Linked DNA regions of Homo sapiens: regions 1, 2, 3, 4 and 6 are each linked to region 5. Evidence: promoter capture Hi-C in 16 types of primary human blood cells and fetal thymus (Javierre and others, 2016). All regions are on one chromosome and are shown on one strand. Each heading gives the region's core, a stretch centred on a gene start or on the middle of the fragment in contact. The rest is flanking DNA. Distances are from core to core; before and after follow the strand shown.

What was found. Contacts are between HindIII fragments. The CHiCAGO score rates a contact against its expected background, and 5 or more counts as called.
Region 1: the fragment with the promoter of ZNF835 here is called in contact with the fragment with the promoter of ZNF329 in region 5 in 12 of 17 cell types (total B cells, total CD4 T cells, non-activated CD4 T cells and 9 more); the score reaches 19.9 in total B cells.
Region 2: a fragment that was not itself captured here is called in contact with the fragment with the promoter of ZNF329 in region 5 in 7 of 17 cell types (naive CD8 T cells, total CD8 T cells, activated CD4 T cells and 4 more); the score reaches 13.0 in naive CD8 T cells.
Region 3: the fragment with the promoter of ZFP28 here is called in contact with the fragment with the promoter of ZNF329 in region 5 in 4 of 17 cell types (naive CD8 T cells, total CD4 T cells, monocytes and 1 more); the score reaches 9.0 in naive CD8 T cells.
Region 4: a contact is called between the fragment with the promoter of ZNF471 here and the fragment with the promoter of ZNF329 in region 5, in 5 of 17 cell types (naive B cells, naive CD8 T cells, erythroblasts and 2 more). The highest score is 5.9, in naive B cells.
Region 6: the fragment with the promoter of ZNF71 here is called in contact with the fragment with the promoter of ZNF329 in region 5 in 2 of 17 cell types (activated CD4 T cells and non-activated CD4 T cells); the score reaches 7.3 in activated CD4 T cells.

Annotation. Positions count from the first base shown.
Region 1 is chr19:56,670,252-56,674,423 of GRCh38, reverse strand. It overlaps ZNF835 (zinc finger protein 835), which reads left to right and starts at 2,667. Exons shown (of 2, transcript NM_001005850.3): 1 at 2,667-2,848. It overlaps LOC105372473 (a long non-coding RNA gene), which reads right to left and starts at 2,445. Exons shown (of 4, transcript XR_936110.4): 1 at 1,993-2,445. The HindIII fragment of the contact is 4,177 bases long and covers 2,573-4,172 here.
Region 2 is chr19:57,097,877-57,101,889 of GRCh38, reverse strand. No RefSeq gene overlaps it. Among named protein-coding and RNA genes, the nearest start is that of USP29, 20 kb to the left of the region's middle. The HindIII fragment of the contact is 7,444 bases long and covers 1-4,013 here.
Region 3 is chr19:56,536,628-56,540,539 of GRCh38, reverse strand. ZFP28 (ZFP28 zinc finger protein) reads right to left here and starts at 1,592. Exons shown (of 8, transcript NM_020828.2): 1 at 1,314-1,592; 2 at 824-915. The coding sequence starts at 1,521. It overlaps ZFP28-DT (ZFP28 divergent transcript), which reads left to right and starts at 1,806. Exons shown (of 3, transcript NR_183967.1): 1 at 1,806-2,115; 2 at 2,803-2,889. The HindIII fragment of the contact is 11,931 bases long and covers 1-3,912 here.
Region 4 is chr19:56,505,281-56,509,415 of GRCh38, reverse strand. ZNF471 (zinc finger protein 471) reads right to left here and starts at 1,561. Exons shown (of 5, transcript NM_020813.4): 1 at 1,496-1,561. The HindIII fragment of the contact is 1,838 bases long and covers 151-1,988 here.
Region 5 is chr19:58,148,566-58,152,412 of GRCh38, reverse strand. It overlaps ZNF329 (zinc finger protein 329), which reads left to right and starts at 1,624. Exons shown (of 4, transcript NM_024620.4): 1 at 1,624-1,661. RefSeq lists an enhancer at 1,488-1,547. The HindIII fragment of the contact is 7,703 bases long and covers 1-3,077 here.
Region 6 is chr19:56,592,519-56,596,710 of GRCh38, reverse strand. ZNF71 (zinc finger protein 71) reads right to left here and starts at 1,409. Exons shown (of 4, transcript NM_001370215.1): 1 at 1,283-1,409. It overlaps ZNF71-SMIM17 (ZNF71-SMIM17 readthrough (NMD candidate)), which reads right to left and starts at 1,409. Exons shown (of 5, transcript NR_163263.1): 1 at 1,283-1,409. RefSeq lists a silencer at 1,058-1,447. The HindIII fragment of the contact is 22,646 bases long and covers 1-4,192 here.

The sequences.
Region 1 (4,172 bases), core at 1,418-3,917, 1.5 Mb after region 5:
TGTCATGGTTTAAGGGCAGCCGTGGGGCTACATAAAGTAATGTGGAATCTCACAATCAATGGCATGTTGGTTTAGTGAAATGCATTTTTTTTCCCATTCTATCTTCACAGATTTCTCTGCTTTTCCAATTATCTAAAAATGATCTCATGCCTATGTTTCCAATGGCCAAGGGAATAATTTAGGAAGGCTAACAGAATTCCTTCAGAGCAGGCACCTTAAAATAATGCCGGCCAATAGTAAATGCCATGTGCATGTCAACTATTAAAATTATTTAAGGCCGAGGTGGAAGGATTGGAGTTCAAGACTAGCCAGGGCAACATAGCGACACCTCATCTCTACAAAAAATAAAAGTTAAAAAAAAGTTAGCCAGTGTGGTGGCACATGCCTGCAATCTCAGCTACTCAGGAGGCTAAGATGGGAGGATCACTAGAGTTGGGGAGGTCGAGGATGCAGTGAGCCGTGATTGTACCACTGCACTCCAGCCTGTGCAACAAAGCGAAACTGTTTCTAAAAAATAAAACTCTCTCCTGCCTCTGCCAGGAGAGAGCTTGTTCCTCCAACCCCAGGAGGCCAGGCAAGCATGGACAGGAGCCAAGGGAGCAGGGTCATGAACTTTTTCATCTTTGCAAAGTGGGCACTTGGCATCAGGGTCCCATCACCAGAAAGCACCAAAGCCCCTGGCACCCCACCCACTCCATCCTACCCAGGGACCCCAAGTAGGCAACTGCTATGGCAGTGGGTCCAGCCCAGGCCGGCACTGCCAGCCTCCTCTCCCTGCAGTAGGCACCAGCTCTACCTCCCCCGGCAGGCAATGTCCTGGCTTCTCAGCCCAGCACCATCTGTTCCCCTAGACTTCTCAGGGGCCAGCCCAGTCTGGGCCACCCTTTCCCTCATCCTCGGCTCCCACACAGGTGACAGGCCCAGCAGATAGCTTCTCTCTGGGAAAGGTTGGATGCTGCCTTACATCCCCTTCTATCCCTCCTCCCATCCACACACACAGGCACCCACCCACACCAGGTCTGCTTGTTTCTCACATGTAGGGAGAGGGGGGGAGACCAACCCCTTTGTGTCTTTTGAAATACGAAGAAAAATGTGTGTTCAGGAGCATGACTCCAGTGCTGGGCTCTTGGGCCCAGTTCAGTCTGTCTTGTCTCAAATCTAGGCACTTTTGCTTCAATTTTATTTTTTTTAAGAAAACAAAAACAGAAATCTGCACTAATTTACCTGGTTCTTAGGAAAACTTTTTTTTATTTTTTACATTTTTTGGTGTCCGTTTGTATTGAATAATTTGCTACATTTGTAAAATGTAAGAGGTATATATAATATATGTATATTTCTAACGTAAAAACAATTTTTTTCTTTTCAAGATTTTTTCTTAAAAAGATGAGAGAAACATATTTTTTCAGGAAAAACAAACTTTAAAAAAAAAAGAGGAGAAATAAAACCTTTTCTCCCCTTTCCCCATCCTCTATCTATCCCTGTTTCCCAGGAACAAATCAAAAGGTGGATTATCTTCTGAAGAATGGAAACTGTTAGTCCAGAATGATGTCTTTTTCTCAATGCAGTGAGTTATAGATTCTCTAGTTTTCTCCCTAGGGATGGGAAGGGGGCATTGACGCAAGCCTGGAGAGGAGCCCGGGGAGCAGGGTCATGAAGTTTTTTCTTCAGTGAAGGAGGAATACAATCAAGGGTTTTGTATTCAGAATGTTGTGCAATATTTTGGAATAGGACATTGGTGTGTTTAGAGATTTTAGTTTAAAAACAAAACAAAAAGATTGATCAAATCTGTACAGTTTCTATTGTTCCAGATTTTTTAAAGTTTGTATTAAAAGCATGATACATAATAAAAATAAATAAATAAATAAAACTAAAAAGTAAAATGAAATTCTTCATCTATGTTAATGGATTTGCCACCTTCTTTGCCATAGACTGGAATGACATCAGCTACCTGAGACCAAAATAAAAGTGTGGGTTGCAAACCCTGGCACCTACCTTTTTAGATTCCGCAGCCTGCAGTAGGGACTTAGCCTGTCTGAACCTCAGCTTCCTTCTTTCTTCTTCTTTTTTTTTGAGACGAAGTCTCGCTCTGTCACCCAGGCTGGAGTGCAGTGGTGCGATCTCAGCTCACTGCAACCCTCGCCTCCCAGGTTCAAGCCATTCTCCCGCCTCAGCCTTCCAAGTAGCTGGAAGTGCATGCCACCATGCTCGGCTAATTTTTGTATTTTTAGTAGAGACGGGGGTTTCGCCATATTGGCCAGGCTGGTCTCGAACTCCTGACCTCAGGTGATCCACCCGCCTCGGCCTCCCTAAGCGCTGGGATGACAGGTGCCCGGACTCAAGTTCCTTCTTTCTAAGCCTGTGGGCTCGGCCTCATCCCCTGAGCAAGAAAAAAGTCCCACCCCTGAGTTACTGGAAGCGCCCACCGCCATGCACTGAGGCTGTAGTGGGCGGGGCTCGGGGCAGCAGCCCGGCGCTCCTCGGGCCCCCAGGGGTCAGCGCCCTGCGGACCTAGCGTGTGCAGACGCTTAGCCTTCTGGGAGTTGTAGTTTCGATGACCCAGGCTTTGCAAGCTTTAGTCGCGGTGCCGGCGAGCGCGCAGCGCCCCCTGGGAGTCGTAGTTCCTAAGAACCAGGCGGGCCCGATGCGCAGGCGCAGTCCACCCCGGCCTGGTGCGCGGGCTCCTCCGCAGCAGCAGAAGTCTTGACCTTAGCTCGTCTAAGGAAGGAGGCACCAGGGTCTGCGTTGGCCCAGGAGGACCCGAGACTGAGTAGAAGCGGAGCCGACTGCACCAGGCTAGGAGGGGGCCGGCCAGCGCGTTCGAAGGTGATACCGGGAGGCGAGAGCAACGGTGTGTAGTGTGCGCGTGTTCCTGCAGGTGTGTGACCGCGTGTGAGCCCGTCCCCGAGTGCCATTGTGTCTGCACCTGTTCACTTAGCGGTGTCAGCCCGTATAGGTGTGTGACTGCCTGTGAGCCCGTCCCTGAGTAACACAGCGTCTGCACCTGGTCACTCGACGGTACCAGCAGGTGCAGGTGTGTGACTGCCTGTGAGCCTGTCACTGCATCTGCACCTGCTTACTCGGCGGTGCCAGCCCGTCACTGTGTCTGTACCTGCTCACTTGGCGGTGCCAGGCCGTGCAGGTGTGTGACTGGCTGTGAGCCTGTCCCTGAGTGTCACAGCGTCTGCACCTGCTCACTCGACGGTACCAGCAGGTGCAGGTGTGTGACTGCCTGTGAGCCCGTCCCTGAGTGTCACAGCGTCTGCCCCTGCTCACTTGGCGGTGCCAGCCCATCACTGTGTCTGTACCTGCTCACTCGGCGGTGCCAGGCCTTGCAGGTGTGTGACTGCCTGTGAGCCCGTCCCCGAGTGTCACTGTGTCTGCACCTGCTCACTCAGTGGTGCCAGCCCAGGCAGGTGACTGCAGGTAAAGGCATGTAACACTTTATCGGTGTGTTATGTGCTCGTTCATGTGAAGCGGTGTCTGCATATCACAGCATGTCACATACACGTGTGGCTGCCTTTGGGCAAGTCTGAAAGTTCTCCTGGATGTGAGGTGTGTGACCCCACGTGTGCATGTCTGGGTGTGCCGCCGTGTAGGCTGGCTCGGCCCGTGTGCCTGCCAGCACAATGATGGGTGACCTGGCTGTGCGAGCCTGTAGAGTGCCGTGCTGTCTGAAGTGTGTGCATCTGCACATGATGGAGACGCTGCACATGTGGGCTTTGGCTATGCTGGAGCTCTATCCACCGAGTGTGACTGCACATGTGTCCAGCCATCCCCTGTGGGTGTGTCCCAGTAATGGCCGGCCTGTGTGGAGCAGGTGGCATGTGTGACCTTGTGCGTCTCTGTGCACCTCTTCACACAGGGAGCTACGTGTGGGGCTGGGTGTGTGTGTAGCTACGTGTGCCCGGGACCCTGTGTGCATGTGTGAGTGTGGCTGCAGGTGATGGCTTCCCACCTGCCTCCTTGCATGGGGGTTAGGAGGGCGACTGTGTGTCCCTGGATATGGGTTTGGGTGTCTCTGCATGTCTGTGTGTGTCTGGGCAGGTATGATTGTGTATGACCCTGTGTGTGTCAGAGTGTGATGTAATGCATGTGTCTTCCTGTGATCTTGTGATATAATAAGAAATATATGTTTAATCTTTATCCCCAGCTCCTGGTACCAGAGCCCCTAA
Region 2 (4,013 bases), core at 1,098-3,597, 1.1 Mb after region 5:
AGTCTACTTAACTCTGCTGATGTAACACAAAGCTGCCACCAGGTGATGTCAATGAAGGCGTGACCATGGGCCAACACAGCTTTGTTTATGGAAGCCAAGATTTGAATTTCATATAATTTGCACATATTATGAAATATCATTTTCTTTTCTTTGTTTCTCTTCTTTTTTCTGTTCTCTTTCTCTCTCTTTTTTCTTTTCTCTCTTTTTTGAATAAAGAAAGGGTCTTGTTCTGTCACCCAGGCTGGAATGCAGTGGTGCAACCATAGCTCACTGAAGCCTTGATCTCCTGGGCTTAAATGACCCTCTCACCTCAGCTTCCTGAGTAGCTGGGACCATAGGTAAGTGCCAACACACCCAGTTAATTTTTTAACTTTTTTTTTTTTTAAGACATAGTTTTGCTCTTGTTGCCCGGGCTGGAGTGCAATGGCGCCATCTTGGCTCACTGCAAACTCTGCCTCCCGAGTTCAAGCTATTCTCCTGCCTCAGCCTCCCGAAAGTAGCTGGGATTATAGGCATTCACCACCACGCCCAGCTAACTTTTGTATTTTTAGTAGAGACGGGGTTTCATCATGTTGGCCAGGCTGGTCTTGAACTCCTGACCTCAGGTGATCCGCCCACCCCGGCCTCCCAAAGTGCTGGGATTACACGCCTAAGCCACCGCACCCGGCCAATTTTTTAACTTTTTGTAGAGATGTGGGGGGTCTCACTATGTTGCCTAGGCTGGTCTTGAACTCCTGGGCTCAAACGATTCTCCTGCCTCGACCTCCCAAAGAGTTAGGATTACAGGTGTGAGCCACTGTGCCTGGCCTGATTTATTTTCAACAATTTGAACATATAAAATCCATGCTTAACCTGAGGGCCGTACAGAAGCAAGCGCTAGTCCATATTTGATTCTGCCAAACGCTGCTCTAACTCTGCAGCTGGCTTTCAGTAAGACACATGGAAGTGTTAGATAAAGAGAAAAAAAAAAAAAACAGAAAAGTTCTGCCAGGGAACCCAAGACATTAAATTCCCCTGTTGACTGGGGCGAGGGACTTTAAGCTGTTCCCTTTACACCACAGGCTCCAAAAGGGAGTAGTCTGAAGCCTGGACACACTTATCCACAGACTCATTTGATTTGGTCAGCATGGTCTTTAGGAAGGAATAAATACATGACCTTCTTAAACATAAAATTTGGAAGATTTCACTTAAAGGAATCCAGATTTCTGGGTTTTGTGACCCATGTTCCTATGCGGCAGCCACAGGTTGGAGCAGAAGAGCAGGGAGCCCCTTTATTTATTTATTTATTTATTTTTATTTTATTAATTTTTTATTTTTTTGAGACGGAATCTCGCTCTGTCGCCCAGGCTGGAGTGCAGTGGGGCGATCTTGGCTCACCGCAACCTCCGCCTCCCAGGTTCAAGCGACTCTCCAGCCTCAGCCTCCAGAGTAGCTGGGATTACAGGCATGAACCACTACACCCGGCTACTTTTTGTATTTTTAGTAGAGACGGGGTTTCACCATGTTGGCCAGGATGGTCTTGAACTCCTGACCTCAGGTGATCCACCCGCCTCAGCCTCCCAAAGTGCTGGGATGGCAGGTGTGAGCCACTGCGCCCGGCCAGGGAGCCCCTTTAGATGGGATGGGGAGGGACCTCCGATCAGGGCTGCCCACTCACTCCTCCTCCCTCTGCTTCCCTTCCCTCTTCCATCTCCCTCCCCCATCCCCCCCATCCTTCATTCATCTACCTGAGGTGCCTGACCCTGGTAGACAAGGAAGATATTAAAAATGTTTAACAAGGGTGGGGCAGTAGCCAATCCTGATGAAGCCCTGACCAATGATACACGAGCCCCAGCTGGGAGCTATTGGTACCATCTGTAGCTCCTGTGGACATTGACATTTAAATTGATTTAACCTTTTTTTTATTTTTTATTTTTTGAGACGAAGGCTCACTCTGCCACCCAGGCTGGAGATCTCGGCTCACTGCAACCTCTGCTTCCCAGGTTCAAGCGATTCTCCTGCCTCAGCCTCCCAAGTAGCTGGGGTTACAGGCGCACACCACCATGCCCGGCAAATTTTTGTATTTTTAGTAGAGATGGTGTTTCACCATGTTGGCCAGGCTGGTCTTGAACTCCTGGCCTCAAGTGATACACCCTCCCTCGACTTCCCAAAGTGCTGGGATTACGGTCCTGAGCCACCGCGTCCGGCCAGACTTATAATTTTAAAAAGGAAAAACCAGGGGCACCCCACCGCCTGGGGATCGAGGGGAGCCCAGCATAGGGAGGGAGAGGGAGCCAGGGTTATAACGTCCACATTCATACAACCTCAGCCTTGACCACTACGTGCGGATCATGGCGGTAGCGACCCGGCAGGAAACACAGCGAGCGAGCTGATTTGTGATCATGGTCGGTGCTCCGAAGAACAGACAACGAGGCGTGGAGCGCGTGCCGGGTGCGATCCTGGAAGGCTCCTCAGAGGAGGTGACATCTCGCTGGGCCTGGCGGCCCTGACGTCCAGCGGCGATGGCGGTCCATGGCCACCAGGTGGCGCCGCGAGAACGTGGCTGAAGCAGCTAGGCCGCGTTCCTGCGATCTGACTGTGCAGAGAGCTGTGGCTCCAGGTTTATCTCAAAGCATTTTTCTCAGCAGATGAACTTAGGGAGGGAGGCAGGAGAGCAAATTCCCCTCACTGCCCATGTGTCAGTTTTATTGTACCTTAACGGTAGTCAGTGCTGCAGCAGCCGAGAGCCCGGGCCCCCAAATTTGGGTTTACGGGCTGGCTCCAACCCAAACCAGCGTGTGTGTCCCTGCCATGGGCGTTTTATGTATTTATTATGTATTTGTTTTTCTATTGAGACAGGGTCTCACTCTGTGGCTCAGGCTGGAGTACAGTGGCGCTGTCTTGGCTCACTGCAGCCTCCCCAGCTTGAGCAATCCTCCTGCCTCAGCCTCCCGAGTAGCTGGGACTACAGGCCTGCACCACCACACCCAGCTAATTTTTGTATTTTTTGTAGAGAAGGGTTTTTGCCATGATGCCCAGGCTGGTCTTGAACTCCTGGGCTCAAGTGATCTGCTCACCTCTGCCTCCCAAAATGCTGGGATTATAGATAGGCATGAGCCACCACACTTGGCAATTATTTATTTATTTTTATTTTTACGGTTTTTTAGAGTCAGGGTCTCACTCGTTGCCGAGTCTGGAGTGCAGTGGCAAAATCTTGGCTCACTGCAACCTCTGCCTCTTGGGTTCAAGCAATTATCATGCCTCAGTCTCCTGAGTAGCTGTGACTACAGGTGCTCACCACCACGCCTGGCTAATTTTTGTATTTTTTAGTAGAGATGGGGTTTCACCATGTTGGCCAGGCTGGTCTCGAACTCCTGACCTCAAGTGATCCACCTGCCTCAGCCTCCAAAAGTGCTGGTATTACAGGTGTTAGCCACCGTGCCTGGCCAGTTCACTAATATTGAGATAAATCATACTCGTGTAAGACGCTACTAACAGGGGAAGCTGGGTGCAGGAACAAGGAAAACTTTCTATTCTCTTTGCAACTTTTCGCCAAATCTAAGTCGATTCTAAAATAAAAGTTGATTCTTTTTTATTGTTTATCTGAAATCCATATTTAACCAGGCAATTTGTATTTTTATTTATTAAATTGGGCAACCCCAGTGCAGAGCTAAGGGAGACAGGTGGATTCTCTAACCCAGACACACGTTTTTGAGCCATCAGCGTCTGTGATCCAAGCCGGGAGCCGGCATGAGATCCCGAGTGAGGGAGAGTGATGGAGACCATGGCGTCTGGAGCCGGAGATGCAGGGAGGTGAGCGAGAGCTGTCCGAGCAGTGGCTGAGGGTGTTCACTGCTGGCCGACTTAGTCTCTCCACACCTCAGTACTCTTCTCTGTAAAATGGACACTAGAATCACGCCTGCCTCACGGGCTTTTGGGAAATGCAATGCCTTTGATGGAGTATTTATTGCTGCATCAGGTGCACAGGACGCAGACAGAGTTAACTTACTCCCGAGTTCATCCCATCCAATTTC
Region 3 (3,912 bases), core at 343-2,842, 1.6 Mb after region 5:
CTCAAGAGCAGTTTGGGTAGGACAACTGGAAGCTGGTTCATCTGTACATATATTTTTTGAGGCCTCAGTGGAAGTGAAATGGTTCATCTATTAATGAGCTAGCTATGATATTTATAGGAGAAGCCAACCGAAACAAACACAACTATTTACTGGCATGTTTTAAAGCCACAAAATCAAGTGGAAAAGCCTTTCATATTGCGCCTCCTCTCCCTAAAATGTTGTCTTTCTTTACTGTGCCTCCCAAACATCTTCTCTCCCTTCAAGGCAAGGCTCAAAAATCACCTCCTTGGTAAATAGGCCTACCCTTCCGCTACAGGAGGCTGGAAGCCAGGAGCGCCTTGTAGTCCTCGCTCATAATACTTGGCCCAAGGATGATCACATTCTAGAATCTTGCTTGTTTCCTTGACATTGGGTCAACAGGCTGTGAGCTCCAGAGCAGGGACTAGGGCTTAGCTATTGGTTTGCTCAGTGGCTGGCACAAAGTGGTCACCAAACAAACCATGTATAGCAGAAGAGTCTGCCGTGTTCCTCAAGGGGCACAATTCCTCCATCAGAGTCCCTCTGAGAAAAGCGGTACAAGGGAGAGGCTGAATCATTTCATCAATCAAGAATGAAGGCTGATTGGGATGAAGAAGAAGCAGGCATCGAGGCCCCGGGCAGTTTAAACTTTTCCCCGTAGCCCATCACTTCACTAGAACGTGAAGAAATAGAAACCCGCGCCCAAACAGGTCTCTTAAACTGAAAACTTTCAAGAAAATAAGCAACATTAAGTCCCGAAAAGCAAGACTGCATTTCAGAGACAAGAGATGAAATGCCAACTCACCTGGGACATGGCTTTAGGTTCAATTCCTGTCCCCACAGCCTCCAGCTTCTTGTTTCTCTCCTGGGGAAGAGCAGTGTCCCTGGAAGGCAGAGCTGAAAGAGAAAGGAGTAGCTAGAGACCAGGTCTACACCACAGTCCCAAATCACCAGCCTAGAAACGTCCCTTCCTGCATGAAAAGGTGGGATCAGATCATTACCCTGCCTAGGGACTGCCACAACGTGGAGATAGGTTTTTTTCCTCCCTGGGAGCACGAAAACAGGAAAAGCGTCTAGTTAGAGTCACCCTGGGAAAGTCAACACCCTTTTACCGCGGCTTGCTGCTCTGAATCAGTTGAGCTTCCAAATCTTCAGATTCTCCCACTCCACCAGCTTCAAAGACCAGGGGCACAGTTCTCCAGCAACTGGTCCCCGAGAGCCCAACCCCCTCCCAGATCTCATCCCGAGATGAATTCGTCCCTGTCCGCTCGGCCCCAAACACCTGTCACTCTCACCTCTGTGCCCAGGCCCCGTAGGGGCCGCTCCTCGCTGGCCTTTGGATGCGAGGCCATTCCTTGAGCGCGGCCTTCCCCGGGCAGGGAGGGCCAAGGTGGCTGGAGTCCCTACAGTCGGGCCTCGGCCCGCCCGGGGCTTTGTGCGGGGGGCGCCTCTACCCGGGAGCGGCGTCGGCTCGCGGACACTCGCGCTCGCCGCCCCCCGCATGTCACCCGAGGCCGCGCGACGCCCTTCCGACCGGTCCCTCACAGACCCACACCCCTGGCCACACCCGCCCGCCACGCCCAGCGAACAGCCCCGCGCGCGCTCCCCCATGGCCCGGCATCCACTGGGCCGCGCCGCGGAGCCGCCCCGCCCCCGGCCGCGCCCCGCCCCTCCCCACCCCTCCCCGCTGCCCCGCCCCGCCCCGCCCCGCCCCGCCCCGCCCCGCCCCGCCCCGCCCCGCCCCGCCCCGCCCCTCAGCCTAGAGAAGCCCGGCGCTTCCCACTTCCAGTGCGCAGGCAGCGCCGCCGGAACCGGGCGTGGCCTCGGCGCAATGCCCGCTGGGAAGCGTAGTCCCAAGCAGGGACGGATGCGGCGGCCCTCGGAGCTCAGGTTGCAAGATACGGTTTGGCCCCGGGCCTATGCAACGCCCGTCCGTCCTGCCCTCTGCGGGTCGCTCTCACTTGTCCCTGGACCGCAGCCGCCGCATAAGTGGTGGCCAACGCTGGGCCTGGGTGTGGCCGGAAGCAGAGGCCGCTCTGACTACACACCCACCCCCCAAAGGCTTCTGGGAGTCGCGCAGGCGCAGCGGCAGACCGGGTGAGGCGGGGCTTGCGGCGAGGGGTGGGACCGCAGGGCCGGAGTAAAAGGGTGCTTGGCTGTGACAGGTGCTAAGGGCCTGGGCGTCAGCTCCTTGCGGGAGCGTCACTGCCGACCGGGAAGGGAAAGGCAATCTTGGGGGCCTCCGGAGTCCGGAGGATCACTCTGATGGGTGATGTGTGTGGGCTAGGAAGGGGGATGTAGAGAGCTTGTGGGATTGTTTTGGGTGCCCCCTCACCTTCTCCCATTATCTCTGGCTACACGGGCCTCCCATCCTCCAAAATACCATTTTCCATTTTGTAACCTATGTATTTGCACGTCCTGGGTCGAAATAGTCTAACCCCAAATTTTCGTCTGGGCTGGCTCCTTTATGCCATTCACTTGTCATCGCCTCAGAGAGGGCTGCCTAACGTCTCAAAAATACCAGCCCTGGCGACCTCTTAAAGTTCCCTTCCTGTGTGAATCACGGTCTGAAGTTAGCTGATGGATTTATTCTTGAACATGTTTAGGACCGGTCTCTCCCCCAGGGGCCTTATCAGAACTGGAGAGCTTCATCCTGGGAGCCAAGGGCCTTGCTGGCTCACAGGCAGTGATGCTGTTACACCAGTCATCACAGATGCACTGACCTCTGCACGCCCAGTCACACTGCACGCCTGGTCTCCTTACTCTTGAATTGATTTCTTTCAGGTCTCCTGGCCTCAGTGATGGAATTAAGATGACTTCTATCTCTGAATCCAAGGGTGACTGAAAGCCGCAAGCTGCAGAAAGGACAAGGTCAGCATTTCTCTCAAAGCACTTCAGTCTCATAGAAAAGGCTTAGTTTCAGTCAGGTGGACCTAGCCATGTAATAGCTGTGGCAGACACTGCTAATGGTCTCTCTGGTGTCTATTTTGCACTCCTTCCACAGCAGAACATTGATGCTCTTCAAGTGGCCATCTGCCCAGCTTATAATACTCACCTCCCCAGTCTCCTTGTAAGGAGTAGTGGCTCTGTAACCAATGAATTTTAAGTACACATTTGCTGGGGGTTTGGTGGATGTGTGGAAAGAGACACAGCTGGCATGTAACTCTGGCCTTTTGTCATCTCACACAACCTTCTTCCTGCTTGGGTATGACACAGGATGTCAACAGGTAGAACAGCTGTAGAGAGCTGGCAAAGGGATCGTGGCCAACTCAACATTCCACTGGAGGCTATATGATCAAACAGCAAACTGTTTATCATGAATGCAGAATGTGGGCAAAGTCGCTTCTGCTCCAGCCACCAGAAGGTTTGCTGAAGGCAATCACTCCCTGGTGTCATGCTCCTTGAGGTTATCTAATGGGACATCTAGAGCCTATTGGTTGACGAATGCAGTCTTGCAAGCCTGCTGTAAATCAAGCTACTGACCGACAACCACCCCCCTTCTCCCTATTCACTCTAATAAATACGAAGGGCTGTAAAGGCTCAGGGCCTGTGTTCACTGGAAGCAAGGAGCCCCCAGACCTCTTCTTCCAAATATACTCTTTTGTCTTTGTCTTTATTCCCATGTTTGTCATCCTTTGTTCAGTCCAACAAGGATAGGGTCCGCTGCAAACAGCCACCTTGGCATCATGAGGATGAAAGTTATGCTAAAGATGGCTTAGCAGAAAAAAAGAGAAATAAACAATCAAAGAAATGGTATTAGAAATGAAAAAGTGGACATAATCACAGAAATTTTTAGAATTTTGCAAATACTGTGATCACCTTATCTCAATATATTTAAAACATATGCAGGGGCTTACCATAGAGAAAATTATAAGTACCAAAACTGACTCAAGA
Region 4 (4,135 bases), core at 312-2,811, 1.6 Mb after region 5:
TTTGTAGTAATAAAGGATATTACAAAGGATGCAGGTGAAGAAATGCATAGGACAAGGTTATATAGGAAGGGGCTCATCCTACAGGAACCTCCAGTGTTCAGCTATCTGGAAGTTTGATGAACCCAGTCCTTTTGGGTTTTTATGGAAGCTTCATAATGTAGGCATGACTGGTTAAATCACTGACCACTGATGATCAGTTTAACCTGTGGCTCCCTTTCCTTTCCCTGGAGATTGAGGGATGGGGCAGGTAATCCCAACCCTCTAATCCTGCCTAGATTGTTCTTGTGACCATCCCTTACCGTGATCAACCTACAGGCTGCCAGCCCACCAATCATTAGCATGCAAAAAGACACTTAATACTTTGGAGATTCCAAGGATCTTAGAAGTCGTAAGCCAGGAAACATAACTTTGTCCTATACTTTGATCGCCTCCCTCTCTCTCACAAACTCATAACAACATAACCTAGTCTCACTCTTTGGACTCTCACAGTTTAGTCTCTTTCTCTCTCTCATACACACACACCAGCCTCTCAAGGAGCCTCACATAATGACTGGTCTTTCACACACAGCCACGTGCTCATCTCTCTCACACTCACTGGTCTCACGCTATGTTGTCTCTCACACACGAACACACCCTGGTCTCACACTCTGGTCTCTCTCAGTCTGTCAGACACACATAACACGGCCTCACACACTGACGGGTCTTTCACCCAAAACACCCATTTCTCACACTCACTGGTCTCCCTTTCACACATTAACATACCACAGTCTCACACTCTGTTCTTGCACAGTCTAGTCTCGCATACATGGTGATTCTTCTCTCTCTCGAACACACACCGGCCTCTCATTGAGCCTCACCCACCGACCGACCGGCCTTTCACACACAGGCACACGCCCATCTCTCACACTCACTGGTCTCTCACACTCCATCCAGCCCGTCTCACTCTCTCACACGAATACATCCTGGTCTCACGCTCTGGACACCTGGTCTGTTACACACTTACACACCCACACACCTCGCAACCTCTCACTGAGCTTCACACGCTCTCTTTCAAATGCAGGCACATCCCTATCTCTCTCACACTCACTGGTCTCTCACACTGGCCCGTCTCGCTCTGTCACACACGAACATACCCTGGTCTCACACTGGACTCTCGGTCTGTCACACACACACACACACACACACAGAAACCACACCCTCTCACGGAGCCTCACACTCTGACAGATCTTTTACACACAGGCACACCCCCATCTCTCCCACAGCTCACTCCAGTGGTCCCGCCGCCCCAAGCCGCCCCGAACGCCCAGCAGCCCCGAGCCGCGGCCTCCGCCCCGCAGACTCGAGTACGCGCGCCCCGCTGGCCTCTGGGAAATGTAGTCGTCCTGGGGACAGAGGACGCGGCTGGGCCTTCGCGACCCGCGTCGGAGCCGCCCGCCTCGCCTGCCCTTCCTGGCCCAGCCCTCGAGCTCGGACTCCCAAACCACCCAAAACAAACCCCCGGCCTCGTCTGGCACCCAGACGCTCTCATCCGAAGGACTCCGTGAGTCGACGCTGGAACCCCCCATCGCGCAGGCGCCAGCCTCTCTCCAGGGGTCGGACGAGAGGGGCGGAGACAAGGCGTGGCCTAGTGTTGAGGGGATTGTCCTCGGGCTGCTGAAGGAGTGAGAGGGACCTTAGAGCAGAGCGGGCGGTGCCTGCGCAGTGCGTGATTACGCGAGCCGGGCGTGGCCCAGGGTTCCGGCGGGTAAGAGCAGGAGTGTGCGCAGGCGCAAAGATTGCGCTCTCCCCCTCTCCTCGCCTAGAGACCAGAAGCGTCCCTAGTTACTAGTTCCTGGGGCCTGGGAGGGAAACGCGCGACGGCTGAGCCTTCGGTGTGAGTACGCGTGGGGCTTTGTGACGCTGTCTGTGCCTCTGTGATCGCGATGTCATTCGGAGCGCGGCCTTCTGTGCCAGTCCGTGGGAGTGTCATTATCTTTCTGTGTTAAGCTTATTTTGGAATAAGACAGCGACGAGGAACCCCGACCGTGTTGTGACTCTGGCGAATTAATACCTCTTTCAGCTGCAAATGGGAATGTCACTGATCAGAGGCAGTGAATAACACGACGTTTTTGGAACCAATCTGCTAGGCTTGAACCGCGTTCAGCCCCTTAACAAAATGGAAATGGTCCCCGTTTTAGGGGACTAGCCCTGACTAGGAGAACTGTAGAATTAGTATTGGAAGGTGAGACAAATAAGGAAAAGCAATTCAGGGGGATACAGCAGAGAAAAAAAAATCCCTGTCCTCTTATTATGTAATTTACTTTGAAGCGGAGAGAGACAAGCCACAAATTCATGAGTTAGATAAACAGTCTGATGAACAGTAAAAAGGGCTATGGAGAAATATAACTCAGAGAAGGTTGTATCGTATACATTTTTTCTATTGTCTCTTATAATGTCTTAACATGTCAAAAAAACCTGTCTGCAGCAGACACCAGCCAGGTGACCGCTACTCCAATTCAATTCTGACGCTACCTGGAAAACATCAGATCCTACAGGTTAGACAGCTCAGTCCCAAAAGACTGTCCCCCACTTCCCATGCCAATTCCAAACTCCAGATTGTTGTACCTGTGTTTCAGAGAGATGTGCTATAAATTGGGGCTCCCACAGCCGGCTCCTTGGGTTCCATTAGTTTGCTAGAGCAGCTCACAGAACTCAAGGAAACACTTATGTTTACTGGTTTATTATAAAAGATATTTTAAAGGATACAAATAGCCAGATGAAGAGACATGTAGGGCAAGGTCCGAGAGAATCCCTAGTGCAGGAACTTCTGTGCCCGTGGAGTTGGGGTGCACCACCCTCCCAGCACGAGGATGTGTTTTTGTCTACCTTCTTGGAAGCCGCTTGAACTCAGGCCTTTTCGGTTTTCAAGGTTTCATTATGTAGATGTGATTGATTAAATCATTGGCCACTGGCGATCAACTTAATTTTCAGGCTCTCTCTTTTCCCAGAAGTAGAGGGTGGAGCTGTGAGTTCCAGTCCTCTGAGCACATGGCTGGTTCCTCTGGCAACTAGCCACCACTCCCCCCAAATATTGGGATTATCTTGAGAGTTTCCAAAAATCACCTCATTAACATAAACTCATGTGTGGTTGAAATACTGTCTTTCACCTTTATGGCTCTGGAGCTGTTCTGGAGCTTTTTCAGGAACCAGGAACAAAAGGCCAGATATTTTAACAAAAGATACTTTATTGCTGCAGTCATTTAGGAAATTAAAAGAGCTGTAGGAACTGAGAGCCATGAACTGTACCTTTCTTTCTAACTCCACATTCAGTGATGTCATATTGGTAGATTGAAATCCACCACAAGGGGACTATTTACAGTATGGAAATACAGTCTACATCGCTAAAGGATGGAGATACATTCTGAGAAATGGGTTCTTAGGCAATTTCCTAAGAACCTTGTTGTGCAAACATCATAGAGTGTACTTACACAAACCTAGATTGTGTAGCCTACTACACACCCACACTCACTCAGACTGGGACAACTTAGACATACCAGTTAACTTACTGTGCACATCTTTGGGATGTGGGAGGAATCTGGAGTACCCAGAGAAAACCCATGGAGACATGGTGAGACTAGTCAGATTGCATTAGGACCCACCCTAACGACCTCATTTCAACTTAATTAACTCTGTAAAAATCCTATATCCAAATACAGTCACATTCTGAGGTACTGGGAGTTAGGACTTCAACATGCAAAATTTGGGGCAGACAAAATTCAACCAATAACAAGAGATTATTTTGATTCTTCTGTCCTCATTCATCCCACCAAGGAAGTAAGGGGTATTTCCATTATCATACTATATATTAAATTATCATTACATTACATATATAATGTTTTCTTTATCTAATTTTTACTTTATATATACCACATTTTTGTTCATGGGCCATCAAAGGTATTATCTCACATAATTCTTGTAAAAATAAAATTGAATAACTAACTTTACAGTTGAAGATTTAAACAATAAGGGACTTTTTCCAAAGCCACACATCTAATAAGTTTCAAAGGTATTACTCTAATTCAAGTTTCTTCTTTCCAAATTCAGAACTCTTTCCATCCTGTAACAGTGCACTATTTTTAAGCTTAACTCCTTTCTG
Region 5 (3,847 bases), core at 375-2,874:
TAGGATTGCAGGCATGAGCCACTGTGCCCAGCCAATTTTTATATTTTTAGAGATGGGGTTTCACCATGTTGGCCAGGCTCATCTTGAACTCCTGACCTCAGGTGATCCCCCCAGCCCGGCTTCCCAAAGAGTTGGAATTACAGGCATGAGCCACTGTGCCTGGTCTGATACGGCCTTCATGGAGAAATTAAAAAAATACTTTCCATTCAGGAATAATATGTCAGTGTGTTCTGAACTTAACTTCAGGTCTGTTAATGAGGTTTTTGTATTTTCTTCATGAAGATCCTTTATTGCTTTTGCTAATTGATTTCCAAGTTGCTCCAACCATCACTATTGTGAGTGACAATTTAATCACTATTATGGCTTAGAATTTTTTTTCTAATTTTCATTTCAAAATTGTGAAGTATTTCAACCTGCGGAGAGGTTCGGAGAGTAATAGAATAATCTATAAATAATAAAGATGACACCCATGTATCATCGAGATTTTACCTGTGTTAACATGTAGTCAGATTTTCAGGTTTTGATTTGTTTTTTCCTATCAAGCATCACAGGTGTAACTGAGGTCTCCTTTGTCTCCTCCCCAACTCTTTCCCCTCAGTTGCCACTTTCTTGAGGTTGGACAATCTATCTGGTCCATGTTATTGTTACTTTACTACTTATGTATCAATCTCTGTATAACATATAGATTTTGTGTCTTTTATTTCCAGGTAAGTTGTATCATGTGGATAAGTGCACAGTTTACTTTTCGAACTGTTTTTGGAGAACTGTCTATCTTGTATATAAGTTAGTCCTTTTTTTTTTTTTTTTTTTTGAGACGAAGTCTCCCTCTTGTCCCCCAGGCTGGAGTGTGATGGTACGATCTCAGCTCACTGCAACCTCCGCCTCCCAGGTTCAAGTGATTCTCTTGCCTCAGCCTCCCGAGGAGCTGGGATTACAGGCGCCTGCCACCACGCCTAGCTAATTTTTGTATTTTTAGTGGAGACGGGGTTTCACCATGTTGGCCAGGCTGGTCTCAAACTCCTGACCTTAGGTGAGCCCAGTCCGTTTGTTTTAACCACCCCCTATTGCTCCGTTGCACATACCACAGTTTCTCTCTTCCCTGTCAGTAAATATTTAGGCTTCCCCATGCTAAAGTTTAAGAGAACCACTGAAAGAATGAAAATGTGTAGTTTTCATTTTCAACCGGCTATTGTTACTACAGAGGAAAGTTACTGGCTTTGTTTACATTTCTTAGATCTAGTCATTTTAACAAATTAGGCCTCCCAAAATGCTGGGATTACAGGCGTGAGCCACGCACCCAGTAAATAATTATATTGCCAATGAATAATGAGTGTACTTATTCTGAATTTTAACATTATTATCTCAAAAAAAGATTATAGATAAAGAAATATTTTAGGAAATTATGCAGTAAATAAAAGGAAGGCTCTATAACAAAAGAATGATAGCATCGGGTTAAAAATCAGAGGAGACCATAGGAGAAAGTAAATGCCTGCGCGTCCGCCCCGAGGCAAGTCCACGCCAGGGTAATGAATAACCCGGTACCCGCGGCCGCCCCAGCGTTGGGCGGGGGAAGCTCGGGGACTCCGCGCACGCGCACATCCTTGTCCCGGCAGCCGCGCAAGCGCAATCGCCCGGAACATGGCTGCCGCCGGCCGCCAACCGTAAGTGCCGACGCATCCCTGAGCCCTGCGCTGCCTCCGTTTCCTGCGGAGGGAAGTCTTGGCGGGTGGAGGTCCGCCGGGTCCTTGTGGGGCGGCGAGGGGCGCGTCCGCGGGTGGGTTTCACCTGGGTGGTGGGCATGTCGGGCCCGCTAGGGCGAGGGTCTGGCCAGGGGCGTAGTTCTCCTGGTGGGTGGGGACGCTCCGTGGCGATTGGGGTCACTCCTCTGAGGACGAGGTCGCTCCGGGGCTGGTCTGGACGCCCCCGCTCTTTCCTTAGCGTCACCCGTGAGTTCCGCGCTCGCATCTCTAGCCCGCCCTCCCATAGAGACTGTTTTGCCACGCCTGCTGGGTGTCCTGGTCCGTCTCCGGGGGTAACCCCCGAGTCTGCAGCTTTTCTGTCAGGTGTGAGGGGCAGTGTAGGCTTGGGTCGGCCTCCGGCTGAATTGGCGGCCGTGAGCCAGTGGGCTGAGCCGCTTCCCCTTGAGTCTCGAAGGTGTTAGATCACCTGTGTGTTTTTCCATTTGATATTTGCAAAATCATGTTTTACTGCAATTCTCAGTGAGGGCCGCATTTTTGCACGTGTTTAGTGACCATTTTGCTGTCTTTTCCCTTGGTTTAGTGGCATATTTCCTTTGTGCAGTCTTCCAGTCTCAATATTTTATGACATAAAATGTTGGTTTAGATAGAGAAGCTGAAAGACTTGTGCAGTGAACGACCCGGTTAACGTCTGCTGAACTTACTGTATCCCTTATCTTTCCTTCTGTCCATCCTTTCAGCCATTCATTAATCCACCTATTTTTGGAAACATTTCAAAGTAAGTTGCAGATATCACAACACTTCTCCCTCAAACACCTCACTATGCTTACCATGAATTAGAGTTCAGTAGTGCTTTTTTAAATTTTTTGAGCCAAAATTGACTTTCAGTGAAATGCACAGATATTCCCTGTACCATTGATGAATTTTGACAAATGCAACCTAAACCTTTATTAAAATTACCATCAGCCTGAAAAGGTCCTTTATTTTTTGCCAAGTTAAAAAATTTGGCTATAGGAACTTGGGCTTGTTGAAGTACGTTTTGAATACCCAGTTTTTGTCTGTTTTTTCTTTTTTCCCACAGCAAGTGACTTTCCTCCATTCTACTGCTTGTTTACCTCTCTCTTCACCCAACTTTTCATTTTGAAAAGTTCCGCATTTGCATAGAAGTTGCAGGAATAGTTTAACACTTCTAAAACCATCCAGATTCTAAAATTATTAACACTTTTTGCCACATTAGCTTTATCTTTATCTTCTCCCTGCCTGAGACACATGCATAGGTGTTACCAGAAAGGGGGTCCCGAGCTATAACCCAACAGAGGGTTCTTATATCTTGGGAAAGAAAATTCAGGGCGAGTCCATAGAGTAAAGTGAAAGCAAGCTTATTAAGAAAGTAAAGGAATAAAAAAATGGCTACTCCATAGATAGAGCAGCCCCAAGAACTGCTGGTCGCCCATTTTTATGGTTATTTCTTGATTATATGCTAAACAAGGGGTGGATTATTCATGCCTACCATTTTTAGGCCATATAGGGTAACTTCCTGATGTTTCCATGACATTTGTAAACTGTCATGGTGCTAGTGGGAGCAGGACCAGAGGTCACTCTCGTTGCCATCTTGGTTTTGGTGGGTTTTAGCCACCTTTACTGCAAGCTGTTTTATCAACAAGGTCTTTATGACCTGTATCTTGTGCAAATCTCCTGTGTTATCCTATGACCTAGAATGCCTTAACTGTCTGGAAATGCAGCCCAGTAGGTTTCAGCCTTATTTTACCCAGTCCCCATTTAAGATGGAGGTTTGCTTTGGTTCAAACGCCTCTGACATAGGGTTTTCTTTTTATATTTTACACACACTTGTACACACAGCAGGTGTTGCAGAGGCAGGTGTGATACAGACATATATTTACATACACTTAGTTTTTTTGGCTGAGTTACTGGAAGTATGTTATAGATATCATACCTCACTCTGAAATACTTCAGCCAGGATCTCATAAGAAAAGTAACGTTCTTATTTTTTAATTTTGTATTTTTTATAGAGATGAGATCTCACTATGTTGCCCAGACTGTTCTTGAACTCCTGGTCTTAAGCAGTCCTCCTGCCTTGGCCTCCCAAAGTGGTGGGATTACAGGTGTGAGCCACCACACCCAGCCAAAAA
Region 6 (4,192 bases), core at 160-2,659, 1.6 Mb after region 5:
TGTAAGATAAGGATGATGATGGTCTCTACCTCAGAGTTACTGGGACATCTATAAATGGCCAGCACTGGCTGCATACACATTCCCTGAACAAATCAACCTCTCCTTGGTCAGAACAGAGTAGGGCACAGAGACCCTTTGGGAGTCTGATCCCACTTTAAGAAGATCCTGTGGGAGGCAGAAGAAACAGCCTTCCTTTTCCCCTCCTCCACCCGGCCCCTGTCACTCCCAGGCCCCTACGCCTCCAGAGCCTTCTATGGGCAGGAAAAAGCCAGGGAACTGTGGGCAGGCAGACTAGGAGAAGCGTAGGGTGAGAAGGTAGTGGCTCTGCTAGGCTCCCTTGTCCAGGCATATAGTCTTTGGAAGAGGCACACCCAGACGCACCCACCCCTGCAGAGTCACACGCAAACATCAAGAAATACTCTAGACACAGGTGGACACACAGAGATAGGAAAGATCCAGACAGGACTGGCCCCTGGAAAGACACAGCCCTACACTCATGCCAAGAGACATGCATGGAAAGAGCAGACATAGTGGACACCCAGAGGGCACCCTCCCACAGAGACACTCATGGACAGAGATCAAGGCTGACACACCCACAACACCAAAGACAAGGACACAGGCAGTCACTCAGAGATATCACCACACATGCATAGGCAGAGACCTGGAGAGACACAGCTCCACAGAGAGACCAAGACTCTGAAGAAGTGGGACACACACACACACACGCTACCACACATGACCCACACGGACATACATGGACACATTCACATTCATTCACAGACCCAGCCTCTGGACGACACGCAGTTTCTCTCTCTGTCTCATACACACACACACACACACACACACACACACACACAAACACACACACACAATCACAATATCCAGAGACACAGCCATACCCTCAGGACGACACAATCTGTCTCACACACACATACAGACCCACACAGACACACACACAGACACATTCACAATATCCACAAAGACACAGCCTCATCCTCAGGATGATATGCACTGCCTGTCTCTCACACAGGCCACCTTCCCCCCAGGATGGCCCTCGTGTTCATGCAACTTTCCTACCTCCAACCCACTCACGCCTCTCCCTCCCTGGCCCCGGCCTCTCCTCAGCCCCTCAGCCTCCAGTCAGCCTCTCCTTAGCCCCTCAGCTTCCCCTCAGCCTCTCCTCGGCCGCTCAGCCTCTCCAGGCGCACCTCGGTCCCGGCCTGCACGCCCTCTCCTGCGCCCGCACGCCCTGGACCAGCACCCAGCCCTGCACTCCCCGTACCTGGGCCTGCACGCCGTCTCCCCGAGGCCGCGCCCTCCCCGGGGCCAGGTTCCGGCCCCCGGCACAGGTAGAGGGTGGGCGCGACCCCGCAGCCACACTCACCGGCTCGCCGCTCTGCCAGGACAATGACCGCGCCCGCTAGGCCCGCCCGACGGCAGTGCGCCTGCGCGGACTGCGCCGGACTACGCTTCCCAGAAACCCGCGCGCGCCACCTCCCCCCGGCTTTTTTCAGCCGAGCCCAGCCGAGTGGAGCCGAGCGGAGCCAACTGAGCTCCTCCATCTCACAGAGGACTCCGCGGCCAAGGAGGCTGGGGCGAGAGGGAGGATTGAGGGGGAGGAGGCAGGGAAAGGGAAGGAGAGAGAAGAGACGGAGGGAGGAAGGGTGGAAAGAAAGACGGAGGGAAAGGAGGGGCGAGGAGGAGGGACAGGAGGGAAGGGGGGAGGAGGGAGAAAAGAAGTAGGAGAGGTGGGAAGAAGGATGGAAGGGGAGGAGGGATGGGGAGGAGCGGGGAGAAGAGAGAGGATGGAGAGGGACTTGGGGAGGAGAGCTGGGGAGGAAGAAGAAGAGATGGAGAAGGAGGAGGGGTTGGAAGAAGGATGGAGGGGAAGGAGGAAGGGCTGGGGAGAGACTAAGGGAAAAGAACAGGTCAGAGAGGAGAGGAACCAACAGAAAGAAGAGGGAGCGGGTGGGAGGAGGGAGGGGCAGGGAGGCAGGAAAGGAAGAGAATGGAGACGGCAAGGAGGAGAAGGAAGAAAGGGTGGAAAGGGGGATGAGAAGGTGGAAAGGACTATAAGGAAGAAGAAAAGGGTGGGAAAAGGAGGAAAGAAAGAGGAAGTCGAGTTGGGGAGGGCAGGACAGGCTGAAGAGAGGAAAGAATGGGTAAGGAGAGGGAGGAGGGAGGAAGGAAAACAGAAAAGGACAAGGGATGGGTGGAGGCAGAGAAATGAGGGGGATAAAAGAGGCGTGTCACATCTGCTGCAGACATTTCTGCAGTCCAGCCAATGGACTGGCCTGAGGGACCATCCCAGGCAACTTTAAACCTGATAATCATGCTTATCTTTAAAGAACACTTTTTAAGCATACAGATGTGCAAAGAAGAAAATGAGCATAGGTGTAGAATAAAATGTATAGGAGACTATCGGTTTGGACTGAGTTCCTGCACTAGGCCCAACAGATCAAATCGAAATGGAGCTACTCATGCTGAAGTTCCAGGCCACCAACTCCAACTAAGTTGTTACCTGACCTCCTCTCAGGAGAGAAAGAGAGAGATAATAGCCAAGTCCCAAACAGGCCAGTTTAGCAGGCATGATAAAAGAAATCCCCTTTGCTTTAACCATGATAGGGAAAGTAACTTTGAAATGACCCATCCACTCTTGTTCTCTGTTTCTGCTTTCCTCAGCCCGTTTCTGTGTATGAAGCCATATTCCTCTGCTTGGATCACCAGAACACTAGTTCTATTTTATAGAAGGAGGTGTGGCTGGATTCTAGAATTGCAAATAAAAAACAACTAGATCTTTAAATGTCAATTCCCTATATCTTTAGATATAAGAAAAAAAGCATTAATCCTTGTTGTGAGTTTCCTTTGTTCTGACCCCTGGTCTCCACATTTTATGATTTATAAACAATCTTCACAGCCAAGCTACTTTCCAGATTAGTTGGGTAATACAGACAGGGGAGCTTACACAAGAGGAAAGGTAGGAACCAGATGCCTGGCTGAGACCCTTTTCTATAGTAAACCACAAAGCCAAGTTTAAAAACATTTGCTGAATGTCCAAGTGGCCACAAAACCATCAACAGCAGCTAGCCTTAGGTGGTGATTAATGATGTATTTAAATGAAATATTTTATTCTGAGATAAATGTGGATTTATTCACGTCAGGTTGTAAAACATAATATAGAAATCATACAGAGAGACCTATGTCTCTTAGGTAATTTCACCCAAGGGCAACATCTTGCAATATCACAAGTAGGATACTGACGTCGGTCCATTCAAGAGACAGAACATTTCCATCACAAGGATCTCTTCCGATATTTCCACAAGGATCCTTCATCTTGCCCTTTTATAGCCACACTCACTTTCCTCCAGACTCGATCATTAGTCTATCCTCCATATATACAATTGTGTCATTTCAAGAATGTTATACAAATGGAATCATACAGTATGTGAATGGTGGAATTGGCTTTTTTCATTCAGCACAATTCTCTGGAGATATATTCAAGTTGCTGTATAGAGAGAACTTAATTATCTTGCATAACAGAAACTTTATACTCGTTGAGTAACGTCTTCTCACCTCCCCCAGCCCCTGGAAACCACCATTCTAATTTCTGTTTCTATGAGGTTGACTATTTTAGATTCCACATGTAAGTGGAATCATAAAGTATTTGTCCTGTGACTGGCTTCTTTTACTTAGCATAATGTACTCAAAGTTTATCCATGTTGTCGCATATGACAGGATTTCTTTTTCTAGGGCTTAAAAATATGCCATTGTGTGTGTATGTGTCTGTGTGTGTCACTTTTTTTATCTGTCCATCTGTCAATGGACATGTACATTGTCTTCATCTCTTGGCTATTGTAAATAATGCTGTAATGAACATGGAAGTGCATTATTCATTGCAACCTCCTGGAGATCTCCTTGAGATCCTAGTTTCAATTCCTTGGCCATATACCCAGATGGGGATTGCAGGAATATATGGTAGTTCTACTTCTAATTTCTTGAGGAATCTCCAAACTGTTTTCCAAGAAGCACCACTACTTTGCATTCCCACCAACAGTAAACAAGGGTTCCAATTTCTCCACAGCCTAACACGTTATGTTTGTTTGTTTTTTTTTGAGAATAGCCATTGTAACTGGGATGAAGTAATATCTTGCTGTGGTTTTGATTTGCATTTCCCTGATAATCAGTGATGTTT